Linked DNA regions of Homo sapiens: regions 1 and 2 are each linked to region 3. Evidence: promoter capture Hi-C in 16 types of primary human blood cells and fetal thymus (Javierre and others, 2016). All regions are on one chromosome and are shown on one strand. Each heading gives the region's core, a stretch centred on a gene start or on the middle of the fragment in contact. The rest is flanking DNA. Distances are from core to core; before and after follow the strand shown. Region 1 holds the start of PSEN1 (presenilin 1). Region 2 overlaps MAX (MYC associated factor X). Region 3 holds the start of SLC39A9 (solute carrier family 39 member 9).

Evidence for each region. The method cuts DNA at HindIII sites, captures the fragments that hold promoters and counts their contacts. A CHiCAGO score of 5 or more calls a contact.
Region 1: the fragment with the promoter of PSEN1 here is called in contact with the fragment with the promoter of SLC39A9 in region 3 in 2 of 17 cell types (naive CD4 T cells and naive CD8 T cells); the score reaches 9.1 in naive CD4 T cells.
Region 2: a fragment that was not itself captured here is called in contact with the fragment with the promoter of SLC39A9 in region 3 in 2 of 17 cell types (fetal thymus and naive CD4 T cells); the score reaches 9.3 in fetal thymus.

What each region holds. Positions count from the first base shown.
Region 1 is chr14:73,134,141-73,138,341 of GRCh38, forward strand. PSEN1 (presenilin 1) reads left to right here and starts at 2,367. Exons shown (of 12, transcript NM_000021.4): 1 at 2,367-2,443. RefSeq lists silencers at 2,147-2,226, 2,487-2,546 and an enhancer at 2,717-2,826. The HindIII fragment of the contact is 2,442 bases long and covers 1,115-3,556 here.
Region 2 is chr14:65,096,145-65,100,409 of GRCh38, forward strand. The region is part of intron 2 of MAX (MYC associated factor X); the gene reads right to left. Among named protein-coding and RNA genes, the nearest start is that of MAX, 4.2 kb to the right of the region's middle. The HindIII fragment of the contact is 1,125 bases long and covers 1,481-2,605 here.
Region 3 is chr14:69,396,235-69,400,567 of GRCh38, forward strand. It overlaps SLC39A9 (solute carrier family 39 member 9), which reads left to right and starts at 2,458. Exons shown (of 7, transcript NM_018375.5): 1 at 2,458-3,231. The coding sequence starts at 3,136. ERH (ERH mRNA splicing and mitosis factor) reads right to left here and starts at 2,065. Exons shown (of 4, transcript NM_004450.3): 1 at 1,997-2,065. The coding sequence starts at 1,999. RefSeq lists enhancers at 1,065-1,573, 1,574-2,081, 2,283-3,482, 2,411-2,750 and a silencer at 2,074-2,314. The HindIII fragment of the contact is 688 bases long and covers 2,234-2,921 here.

The sequences.
Region 1 (4,201 bases), core at 1,117-3,616, 3.7 Mb after region 3:
TTTTTTTTTTTTGGGAAAAACAGAGTCTCACTGTGTCTCCCAGGCTGGAGTGCAGTGGTGCAAACTCGGCTCACTGCAAACTTTCCTTCTCAGATTCAAGCCTCAGCCACCTGAGTAGCTGAGATTACAGGCCCACACCACCATGCCGGGCTAATTTTTGTATTTTTAATAGAGACGGGGTTTCACCATGTTGTCCAGGCTGGTCTTGTACTCCCAACCTCAAGTGATCCTCCTGCCTTGGCCTCCCAAAGTGCTGGGATTACAGGCATGAGCCACCGTGACCAGGCGTTCATGAAAAATTTTCATGACATTCTGTGAGGTGGGTGGACCATAATTTATTGTACCACATTTATTTATTTATTTATTTATTTATTTATTTATTTATTTATTTATTTTTATTTTTTGAGACATAGTTTCGCTCTTGTTGCCCAGGCTGGAATGCAATGGCGCAATCTCGGTTCACTGCAACCTCTGCCTTCCAGGCTCAAGCAATTCTGCCTCAGCCTCCCAAGTAGCTGGGATTACAGGCATGCGCCACCACGCCTGGCTAACTTTTTTTGTATTTTTAGTAGAGACGGGGTTTCTCCATGTTGATCAGGCTGGTCTCGAACTCCTGACCTCAGATGAGCCGCCCACCTTGGCCTCCCAAAGTGCTGGAATTACAGGCGTGAGCCACCGCACCCTGCCTATTGTACCATATTTAGTTTCCCAATTTTTTGCTATATAATATTCCATGAATATCTTTGCCCAAAATTTTTGTAGATTGTTTCTAAGAATAGTTCATCAGCATTTTAAGACATCCTATTAATATTAGCGGACTGCAATCAGATTGAAGTAGTTCACAAATAGATGGGTTTTAGCCTGTATTTGTTCAATACTGAACTATTGTATGTATCAGGCACTGTTATGTATCAGGCACTGTTCTCAGCACTTGTAAAATGTATATGTGCTGCTGACAAGCATGAGCACTTGTAAATGAACAAACTAAAATCCCTACTCTTGTTAAAGTGGGGGAGGTGAAGAATTTTAAAAACATCTTTTTTCGTTCAACCTTCTCCCACAACTTATCTTTCATTCTGCTAATGGAAAATATTACTTTTGTTCTTAAATATGAAGCTTTTGTGTGTAAAAAGTATTAGAATCTCATGTTTTTGAACAAGGTTGGCAGTGGGTTGGGAGGAGGGATTGGAGATTGATGCGATAGGAATGTGAAGGGATAGCTTGGGGTGGATTTTATTTTTTAATTTTAATTTTTATTTTTTGAGATGGAGTCTTGCTCTGTCTCCCAGGCTGGAGTGCAGTGGTGTGATCTCAGCTCACGGGTTCAAGCGATTCTCCTGCTGCAGCCTCCCGAGTAGCTGGGATTACAGGAGCGCGCCACCACACCCGGCTAATTTTTTTGTATTTTTAGTAGAGACGGGGTTTCACCATGTTGGTTAGGCTGGTCTAGAACTCCCAACCTCATGATCCGCCTGCTTCGGCCTCCCAAAGTGCCGGAATTACAGGCGTGAGCGACTGCACCCGGCCGCTTGGGGGTGGATTTTTAAAGAAACTTTAGAAGAATGTAACTTGCCCAGATACCATGTACCGTTAATTTCATTTTCGGTTTTTTGAATACCCATGTTTGACATTTCTCCGTTCACCTTGATTAAATAAGGTAGTATTCATTTTTTAGTTTTAGCTTTTGGATATATGTGTAAGTGTGGTATGCTGTCTAATGAATTAGACATTGGTACTGTCTTTACCAAAACTGGACAAAGAGCAGGCAGATGCAAAAATCAAGTGACCCAGCAAACCAGACACATTTTCTGCTCTCAGCTAGCTTGCCACCTAGAAAGACTGGTTGTCAAAGTTGGAGTCCAAGAATCGCGGAGGATGTTTAAAATGCAGTTTCTCAGGTTCTCGCCACCCACCAGAAGTTTTGATTCATTGAGTGGTGGGAGAGGGCAGAGATATTTGCGATTTTAACAGCATTCTCTTGATTGTGATGCAGCTGGTTCGCAAATAGGTACCCTAAAGAAATGACAGGTGTTAAATTTAGGATGGCCATCGCTTGTATGCCGGGAGAAGCACACGCTGGGCCCAATTTATATAGGGGCTTTCGTCCTCAGCTCGAGCAGCCTCAGAACCCCGACAACCCACGCCAGCGCTCTGGGCGGATTCCGTCAGGTGGGGAAGGCCAGGTGGAGCTCTGGGTTCTCCCCGCAATCGTTTCTCCAGGCCGGAGGCCCCGCCCCCTTCCTCCTGGCTCCTCCCCTCCTCCGTGGGCCGGCCGCCAACGACGCCAGAGCCGGAAATGACGACAACGGTGAGGGTTCTCGGGCGGGGCCTGGGACAGGCAGCTCCGGGGTCCGCGGTTTCACATCGGAAACAAAACAGCGGCTGGTCTGGAAGGAACCTGAGCTACGAGCCGCGGCGGCAGCGGGGCGGCGGGGAAGCGTATGTGCGTGATGGGGAGTCCGGGCAAGCCAGGAAGGCACCGCGGACATGGGCGGCCGCGGGCAGGGCCCGGCCCTTTGTGGCCGCCCGGGCCGCGAAGCCGGTGTCCTAAAAGATGAGGGGCGGGGCGCGGCCGGTTGGGGCTGGGGAACCCCGTGTGGGAAACCAGGAGGGGCGGCCCGTTTCTCGGGCTTCGGGCGCGGCCGGGTGGAGAGAGATTCCGGGGAGCCTTGGTCCGGAAATGCTGTTTGCTCGAAGACGTCTCAGGGCGCAGGTGCCTTGGGCCGGGATTAGTAGCCGTCTGAACTGGAGTGGAGTAGGAGAAAGAGGAAGCGTCTTGGGCTGGGTCTGCTTGAGCAACTGGTGAAACTCCGCGCCTCACGCCCCGGGTGTGTCCTTGTCCAGGGGCGACGAGCATTCTGGGCGAAGTCCGCACGCCTCTTGTTCGAGGCGGAAGACGGGGTCTGATGCTTTCTCCTTGGTCGGGACTGTCTCGAGGCATGCATGTCCAGTGACTCTTGTGTTTGCTGCTGCTTCCCTCTCAGATTCTTCTCACCGTTGTGGTCAGCTCTGCTTTAGGCATATTAATCCATAGTGGAGGCTGGGATGGGTGAGAGAATTGAGGTGACTTTTCCATAATTCAGGTGAGATGTGATTAGAGTTCGATCTGCGGTGGTGGCAGAGGCTTACAAGAAACACTAACGGGACATGGGAACCAATTGAGGATCAGGGAATAAAGTGTGAAGTTGACTAGGAGGTTTTCAGTTTAGAACATGGCAGAGACATTCTCAGAAATAAGGAAGTTAGGAAGAAAGACCTGGTTTAGAGAGGAGGGCGAGGAAGTGGTTTGGAAGTGTCACTTTGGAAGTGCCAGCAGGTGAAAATGCCCTGTGAACAGGACTGGAGCTGAAAACAGGAATCAATTCCATAGATTTCCAGTTGATGTTGGAGCAGTGGAGAAGTCTAAGCTAAGGAAGGGGAAGAGGAGGCCAAGGCAAACACTTAGGAACACTTGCAACGAGGGGGTGGAAGAAGAGCAAGGAGCCAGCTGAGGAGAATGAGTGTGGTTGGAGAACCACCACAGCGCAGGGTCGCCAGAGCTGAGGAAGGGGAGGGAAGCTTCAGGAAGGAAAAGGTTGGCAGGGATTTTGAGTGTTAGGCCTGGTGTAGCAGAAGGAACAGAAGATTTAGAGCAGCGCTAGCCAATAGAAATAAAATGTGAGGCCCGGGGCGGTGGCTCACGCCTGTAATCCCAGCACTTTGGGAGGCCGCGGGGCGGATCCTTGAGCTGAGGAGTTCGAGACCAGACAACACGGCGAAACCCCGGCTCTACAAAAAATTAGCTGGGCGTGGGGGCGCGCGCCTGTAGTCCCAGCTGCTCCCAAGCGAGGCTGAGGCAGGAGAATCACTTGAACCCGGGAGAAGGAGGTTGCAGTAAGCCAAGATTATGCCACTGCACTGCAGCCTGGGCAAAAGAGTGAGACTGTCTCAAAAAAAAAAAAAACCTGTTTTGTTTTTCTTTTGGAGAAAAGGCATACAAATTTATTAGCATGCAGACTGGGAGAACCACAAGGTGATTATCCCTATTTTAAATTTTCTAATAAACATACTATTATTTATTTATTTATTTATTTATTTATTTATTTATTTATTTTTTGAGACGGAGTCTGGCTCTGTCGCCCAGGCTGGAGTGCAGTGGCGCGATCTCAGCTCACTGCAAGCTCCGCCTCCCGGGTTCACGCCATTCTCCTGCCTCATCCTC
Region 2 (4,265 bases), core at 793-3,292, 4.3 Mb before region 3:
AAAGCCTGGGCTGGGGACTGTTGTTCTCAAAGTAGTGGATGGAATTTCTGTAGTGGTTCCAGGCCCAATTTAACTAGCAGAAGAGTGGAATCTTACACCAATCCCTGCTGCCATGTCCATCCCTGAGCTACTAGTGGAGTCAATTTTAAATCTCTCAGAGACAATGGCAAGGATGTATTTTTCTCTTCCCCAAGCTTGATTTGAAAGAACAAGTTAAAAACATGCAGAACTAACAAGCCTAATTCCAGGCAACTGTGAATTAAATGTTATCACTAATGTTTTGAAAGAGCACATGAAAAACAGAAAAACCTTTACACAAGGCTGAGAATTCTCTGTGGGAAACATTTCCAAACCACAGATCCACCCAGACCAATAACACTGCCCGCGCCTCATCCCCACCCCCATTGGAGGACTAGTTTGCAGGCTTTATCACTGCCTTGTTAACTGTCTTTGCTTGCTGGCAACCCTTTTTGAGAGGGCCAAGATTTCAGAGTTGAAGAAGAAAAACTGGGTGAAGACTCCCAGTGTAAGGCATCTAATATCCTCCCCCAAATGCAAAACTGGTTTTAAAAAACAAGCCCAAACAATTGTCTTGAACAAATAAAACTCTACTCAGATGAGCCTGTACTGAGAATGATGTTCAGTAATGAAAACAAATGGTACGGAAAACCCCCTTGTGGAATTAATTAGGCCCTATTCTAGGAGACCACAGAGGTATTCTTGGACTGTACAGCAGGCTCCCAAACATCTCCCCTACACATCCTATGGTTACAGTGGCTGGATGCTGCCCACTCTTCTAGTACGCTGGATTTGTACGTCTGGATGTCTGCCAGAAAACCCTTCCTCCAGGGCATCCCTAACAGAAATACTAAGGGGCTATGCAGTGGTCCACAGATGCTCAACAGAAACTCCCGCACCAAATCACTTCCAGCTTTGACATCTCTGCCAAAGTTTTTATTCAGCCTCTCAGTTATATTTCTACCCAACTTTCCACACTGGTAGACAGAATAAAAATCTTCACCTACAATTTGTCCATCTTTGACACTACCAAGCACGTGTATCTTAAGTGTTGTTAGATGTTGAAGACAAACATTATTTTGTTAGCCAAGAAGTTGCTATGTTGGCAAGAAGTCATCTAGGCTAAGGAGGTCTGTTCAAAATTGAGGGAAATCTCTTAAAATTATTTCCTTCCAACTTACTGCAGAGAGACTGCATCTTTGTTCAAGGCATCACATCAGTCAGTAATCTTATTTCCTCCAAGTTCTAGGCAAATAGCACGGGGAAATAAATGCTTCATTATTCCAGGATGCACAAGGTTCTCCAGAACAATGCCATGTCTTACAGGCTACCTGACAGCTAACCCCACCTATAAGGGGAACCATCTCAATTCTAATACAGAAAATTCTCAGCATATAGGGAATTAGTTGCCCACTCAATATTTACTACCTTTACAAAATGTGAAGGTTGTATTTTAGAGGGAAGCTTGTGTTGCTTATGATTCTTATCAAGCTATTCTTATTAGAGACTAAGGACACGAGAATACACAGACCCAAAAATCTCATCCGAAAAGATCTATTTCTTACTTCTGATAGATAAGAACAAGATAGGATAAAGCTCAATTTCTAAGCAACTTAAAATATTCATTTTAATCAACCCAAAAATTATAACATAAAATAATAGGCAGGTAGGATGGGATAAACTCACCAAGCTCCCTAAGAGAAAGACATGGATTTCAATTTTCCAATACCTGTCCTGCTTGTAGCTGATTGCCTGGTATACATTTCCAACATTATCTAATGTATGTATTTGTTTTCAAACTTTTTTCTTTTGGTGCCTAAAATAACTGGCAAATGCTATAATCCAAACAGGGCCTCATACTATAGCCATTTCAGAGAAGGATGCCTTGGTCAGGAAATTTTAATTAAAAACCAAGCTGAATTCTTTGACCAACTATTTCACCGTTACTGGCATCTTGGAAAAATTCTTTTAGACATAAGAACAACTTTTACCCTAACACAGGCACATTTAGGAACTAACTCTGGCATTTGTTATCACTGTAAGCATCACTGTCAACACTCTAAGCAGAGAAAAAGTACATGCATTGTGCAGCACTTTTGCCATGCAACTGACTGCAGGTAAAACAGACAGTAGTTTCCTGAGTGAATTCCAATCTCGGAGGCTACCAAGCTCGTTCTCTTCTGAATATTCCTAAAGAAGCAAAGAGCTCTGAGAAGTTAAAAATATTTCATGCCAGAAAGGTCCAGAAGTGGAATTGCACAAATCTGTTTTCAAACCCCTCACAAGTATACTGCAACTGCAACTCAGTCAGGTGCCATCAAGGATGGTCACTGGAAAAAAAATTGCATTTCCTGACCAACACACTAACCCATACATTTCCTGTATACTTACACTCTTTCCTAAAGAAATTTCCCAAACAGAAATAAAGCAAAAGGAAGCCCTTGCAATATAATATACCTGTCCCACAAATTTATCTTTAAAATGCAACCTCTTCCCTCCAAAATATAATAAAAATAACATCAGTGGGATTTTGCGATGTACTGAATTTAGTAGTAAGAATACTCTTTGGGGTTACTTCCTTTAACAAAGCTTACTGGCCATTGGAGAAGCTGTTTTCCGTTTGTACTGAAGCAATAGAAAAAAATATTTGCCAAATCAGTTTCACTTTCTGTTAGAGTTAGCCTAACTTCCTAACTCTCTTCTCAGTATCTTACATTTCTCATGTAGTAAGGCCTATATATTGTAGTGACATTATAAAACATACATGAATGTTTTTATATTAGGATCCACAGAACCCTTTTCAAATAACTTTTTCAACATCTTCTGTAGTCCTGAATACCTAAGTATTTGGTTGTTCACAGTCCACATCTTTTTTTAAACCTTTTTTCTAAGGCAAAACTTAAGAATAGCTCCCTCTTAAATTTTAAAAAATATATTTATTATCCATATTAAATATTGAGAAGTAAGCAGATGCATTCACAGAGGGGAAAAAATGGAATCCTTTTTACCCTACACAGTCACAATAGTTGTTTGATATACTATAAAATTTGTTTATAACATATCTGCTTTTTCTCTCCATGCTGTTGTAATTACATTGTGCAGAGTAATATTTAGAAATATCAACAAATAGATGTGTTAAATTAAAAACAAAGTGTCAAACCAACTTCCTTTGCCTACCCCCAAAATCAAAAGGAAAAATCCTAGGCACCTTAACAGCAAACTAAAAACATCTAGACAAAACAATGAGATTAGCATTCCAGGAAAGCAGAAACATTATAATAATTTAATAACAAATTTATATCAACGATCATATGGATGAAAATTTTGAAAAGCAGAAAGCTTTCAAGAACTGCGAGCCAAAATTTCACCAAAAAAACAAACAAACAAACAAACAAACAAAAAAAACACAACTTTCTCTTACTGGGAAGTCAGTATAATTTCAATTCAAAGGATAATTCTGCAAAGGAAGGCTAAACGATCCTTACCCTCCAGCTCTGATCAAGCCCTAGCACAGATTTTACAACTGGAGACTTGCAGGGAAAAAAAAAGTTTTCAACAGACTAGGCCCCAAACATGAAGGATAAAAGTAAATGTGAAAAAGGAATTCAATTTTCAAATATATGCATAAGTATATGAGAATACTTCAAGGATAAATAAAATAAAACAAATTATCTTTAATGACTATTACCCAGGGATAATTTTTAAGACTTTTGGAACAACTACATCCCCGGATTTTATGGAAATATCAGCTCTCAATAAATAAGTTTTCTTAATGCCTATCTGCTTAGACAACCTGCACAATCTTTGCTTGCTCTAATGAAGAGCAGGTATAACTGAGATGGCTTGCCTTTACCCTGTGGTTATCAAGTTCTTATACCAGAGGTATCAAAGTGACATCCTGCAAATTCTAACAAGCCCCCAAACAGTTGTTCCACACATCATTTTAAAAATCAGAAAAATAACATAAAGTTTTAGATTTCTAATCTTTCTTAAAAAATAGGAAGATCGGCTGGGCGTGGTGGCTCATGCCTGTAATCCCAGCACTTTGGGAGGCCGAGGCTGGCAGATCACGAGGTTAAGAGATCGAGACCAGCCTGGCCAACATGGTGAAACCCCGTCTCTACTAAAAATACAAAAATTAGCTGGGTGTGGTGGCACGCGCCTGTAGTCCCAGCTATTCGGGAGGCTGAGGCAAGAGAATCGCTTGAACCCAGGAGGCGGAGGTTGCAGTAAGCCGAGATAGCGCC
Region 3 (4,333 bases), core at 1,208-3,707:
CTAACAGGAACCCTAAACTGTTTTGGAATAACATAATTTTTTTTTGGAGACAGTTTTGTTCCTGTTGCCCAGGCTGGAGCGCAAAGGCGCGATCTCAGCTCACCGCAACCTCTGCTTTCCGGGTTCAAGCGAATCTTCTGCTTCAGCCTCCCAAGTAGCTGGGATTACAGGCATGCACCACCATGCTCGGCTAATTTTGTCTTTTTAGTAGAGATGGGGTTTCTCCATGTTGGTCAGACTGGTCTTGAACTCCCGACCTCAGGTGATCTGCCTGCCTCGGCCTCCCAAAGTGCTGGGATTACAGGCGTGAGCCACCGCGCCTGGACAAAATGATCAGAATTTTTAACCATCAAATTGGAACAGAAATAGCTGAAGCCCAGACTTTCTGAATAAACAATGGAAAAATAGTACATTTAACATGACATGCAAAACCAAGGGTTATCATACCCTTCTCTCCCCATCAAGAACTAAACCACTTTGACTAAAAGTTTCAGAGGGTTTGACATAAAAACGGAACTTGGTGACAAGAGACGAAGGATTAACTCTCACCTGTAATAACCTGAGCAGTCAAAGCCTTTGTTAAATCGATTTAAAAGCCACAGAAAGCATCATATTAGATTATTTGTTATACAGAAGTCTTTGTAAGCTAGCTACTCAAAAAGTTTCAACGAGTCATTTAAGAAAAAATAATTTTGTAGAAACCACGTGCATTCTTGCAACAGAGGTTGCCCTATACACTAGCTATCTCAACTGCTACTATAATAATTGTATTCCAATTCTAATGCAAATTAAAGGACTAATTTGAAAGGGTAAGAATGGAAAAAGCTATACAGCATGTTGCTTTTTATATCTAGTCTTAAAATGAACACCGGGCAAAGTTTACTATTTTCAGTACTTACTGCCCAAAGACAAGGATTAAAAATCACTAAGAACATAACATGATACATTTTAAAAACTGTGGTCAAGTGGTTATCATTTTTAAATGGCAATGCTTTCCTGCTCAAATTCTTTACAGATTATACCACCTCTCAAGCCAGTTTTGGTCACTTTCTTCGAATTGGAGCTTACTGATCATCCCGGTTGGGTTCTAATAGAGCTGGTCTCTGAGCTGAGCCTACTTTTCAGCCTCCAGCCCCAAGAGGATATAAATACAGATAAGTACAGGATCGAGGGCTGAGGGACGCGCCACACGCAATACCTAGAGGTCTCAAAAACAGGAAAAAAAAAAAAAAGGCAGAGCACAGGAAAACGAAAGCTGAAAAAACACTGCAAAGCAAATACGTCCTCTCCTGGCCCACATGCTGGGTATAGCTGGATCTGTCAGCTTCGAGAATAGTTAGACAACCCTGGCCCATTGTTCCTACAGCAGGCTAGAGCATTTGGAGGGAAAAATACCATATCCGGCAGGGCCCGGTGGCTCACGCCTGTAATCCCAGCACTTTGGGATGCCGAGGCGGGTGGATTGCTTGAGGTCAGGAGTTCGAGACCAGCCTGGCCAACATGGTGAAACGCCGTCTCTGCTAAAATAAAAAAATTAGCCGAGCGAGGTGGCGGGCGCCTGTAATCCCAGCTACTAGGGAGGCTGAGACAGGAGAATTGCTTCAACCCAGGAGGCAGAGGTTGCAGGGGTCTGAGATCCCGCCACTGCACTCCAGCCTGGGCGATAGAGTGAGACTCTCTATCTCAAAAAACAAAACACCTCCCCCACGTCTCCCTCTACCGAGTAACAATCGGGAGAGAGTTCATCCTCAGGCCCAAGGCACGCCGGACCCGAGCGAGCAGGCGGGCGCGCAACCGCAGGGCGGACCGGGGCTCCGAGGCCTAGAGTCAGGCCTGGCGTCCCTGCGGCGGGAAGAAGGGTCAATCCACCGACTAGAGTGGCGGGGAGCATCACGCGGCGCTGCATGGGGCTCGTGGGGAGGGGAAAACGTATGGGGCTGGGGTCGCTCTGGAGGCCGGGGACTCGGACTCGGGTAGCCGCGGAGGCCTTTCTCACCATCGCGCCAAACTCTCTTCGCTACAGCAGCTGCCGACACCGCCGCCGTTACACGAGCTTAACTACAACGCCGCTAACAGCCAATCCTCGCGAGAGGAGCCGCCGGAAGTCGTCGAAAGTGCAACGCAAAAGAGCCTTTTGGATCATAGAGGCACAGTCACTTCCGGCAGCTAGAGCAGCTACTGACTCTGTTTCAGCCATCTTCGATAAAGGCAAAAAGGTAAGGGAAAGTTTCCAAGCTTTAGGAAGAATTATTTTTTTTCAAGACGCTGTCTTCCGTACTTTCGTTATTAAACATACGGCTCAAGTGATCACCGGTATAGACAGTGACATCAGACATCTTTCATTAGCCCTACTCAAAAATGGCGGCAACGTAAGTATCCTGGGCCGGAGGTCGGTTGTAACCCGGAAGTGCCTTTGTAAAGGAGGGGGTGGTTAGACAATCCGGAAGTGGATGGAATGAAGAGATGCCACTTGGCGGCCATGGCAGCTGTAGTATCGGCGACTCCGGGTCAAGGCCCGGTCGAGTGCAGTACCATGGGCAGCACCGGGTATAGGGCAGAGACAGCTTTGTGTCAACTTTGCTGCTGAACCCCTAGGACCCATCGTTAGAGACCTGCAGGACTCCTTTCCTCATCCCAGGCTCGGAGGAGAGTTTGCTGGGACTGGTGGGCTGGTTTCCTGCTCTGGGGGGCGGATCACCTTCGGGGCCGCCTCTTGGAGACAGGGGCGCCTAGGGAACGAACAGGTTCGCTTGAGTCACTTACCCGCCGCCGCCTAAGACATTGTGCCACCCTCAATCCGACAATCGAAGAAATCGATCATTCGCACATTTTCCCCATTGACTTTTCCCATCTCTGTTAACCCACGAGAATCTAATGACTGGCATCTGAGAACCCAGAGCCTGGGACCTTAGATTGCTGTAAGCTTTCTCTGGTGCTAATATCAGCAAAAAGGGTCTGTTGCCGGGTACGTTCAAGAGGAAGGTGCCTCGTGAACACATCTGCTGGTGGGAAGGCCTAAAGAACTGGAAAGCCCACTCTCTTGGAACCACCACACCTGTTTAAAGAACCTAAGCACCATTTAAAGCCACTGGAAATTTGTTGTCTAGTGGTTGTGGGTGAATAAAGGAGGGCAGAATGGATGATTTCATCTCCATTAGCCTGCTGTCTCTGGCTATGTTGGTGGGATGTTACGTGGCCGGAATCATTCCCTTGGCTGTTAATTTCTCAGAGGTAAGAAATTCTCAATTTTCTGTCAGCTGTCAGGATGGCTGTGAGATAGTAGTTTTAGTTGCAAAGGGAAGCTGCTTCCCTAGTTAAATCTCAAAGCTGAAGGTCTCATTAAGAAAGACTATCTTTTTTAAAAGATACATGACACTTAATAATAGAAAGAAACCTCATATTCATTAGTGGAATTCTTAACCTGGGGTGGATAGATATTCCACGGAAGATCCTGGAGTATTCTGAATCCCCTAGAATTGCTTACAAAAATTTGAGGTTCTGTGCATTTACCTGGAGAGAGGCACCATAACATTTCTTTTGATTCTCAGAGGTTTCATGGAATCAAGATTCCAGATTGTTATCAAGAAAATAAATGGAGGGCTGGGCGCGGTGGCTCACGCCTGTAATCTCAGCACTTTGGGAGGCTGAGGTGGAAGGATCGCTTGGGCCCAGGAGTTCTAGACCAGCCTGGGCAACGTGGCGGGACTTTGTCCCTACAAATGAGGCTGAGGCAGGAGGATCGCTTGACCCCAAGTGGTTGAGGCTGCAGTGAGCCGTGTTTGGGCCACTGCACTCCAGCCTGGACAGCAGAGTGAGATCCTGTCTCCAAAAAAGAAAAAAAAAGAAATGGAGAATGTTATTTTTCTACATGAACTGAAATCAATATGATAACTTCCTTTTGAGAAAGTCAAACACACCTTTCTGAGGAAAGCTGTTTTGTTTTTTGGATGTCTGTACTAGAATGAATGTAAGAAAAAACTAAGATTGTTCTTAACTCACATTTCCTTTTAAAGAAGGGGAGCCTTGGAATTGATATTCTGAAGTTGTTTCAAATCTATTTGCTTAGCAATGAATTTTTGGTTAATACGTTTTGACATTTTCGTTAATTTGATTGGCACCTTGAACAGATGTTAAGCGAGGGTCCCGGGAAGAGGGATAGATGAAAGCACTGTTCAGTGAACATGCTGATAGGTCCTTTAGGTAGGCAAAAGGAATTCACGAAGTGCACAGCGTTCAAAGATTTAGGGGGGAAAAACTACTACATTCAAAGGGAACAAGATTTCATGAGTTTGTCCTAGAGTTCAGCAGTAAAATAGGCCCTAGTTTCAGTGCC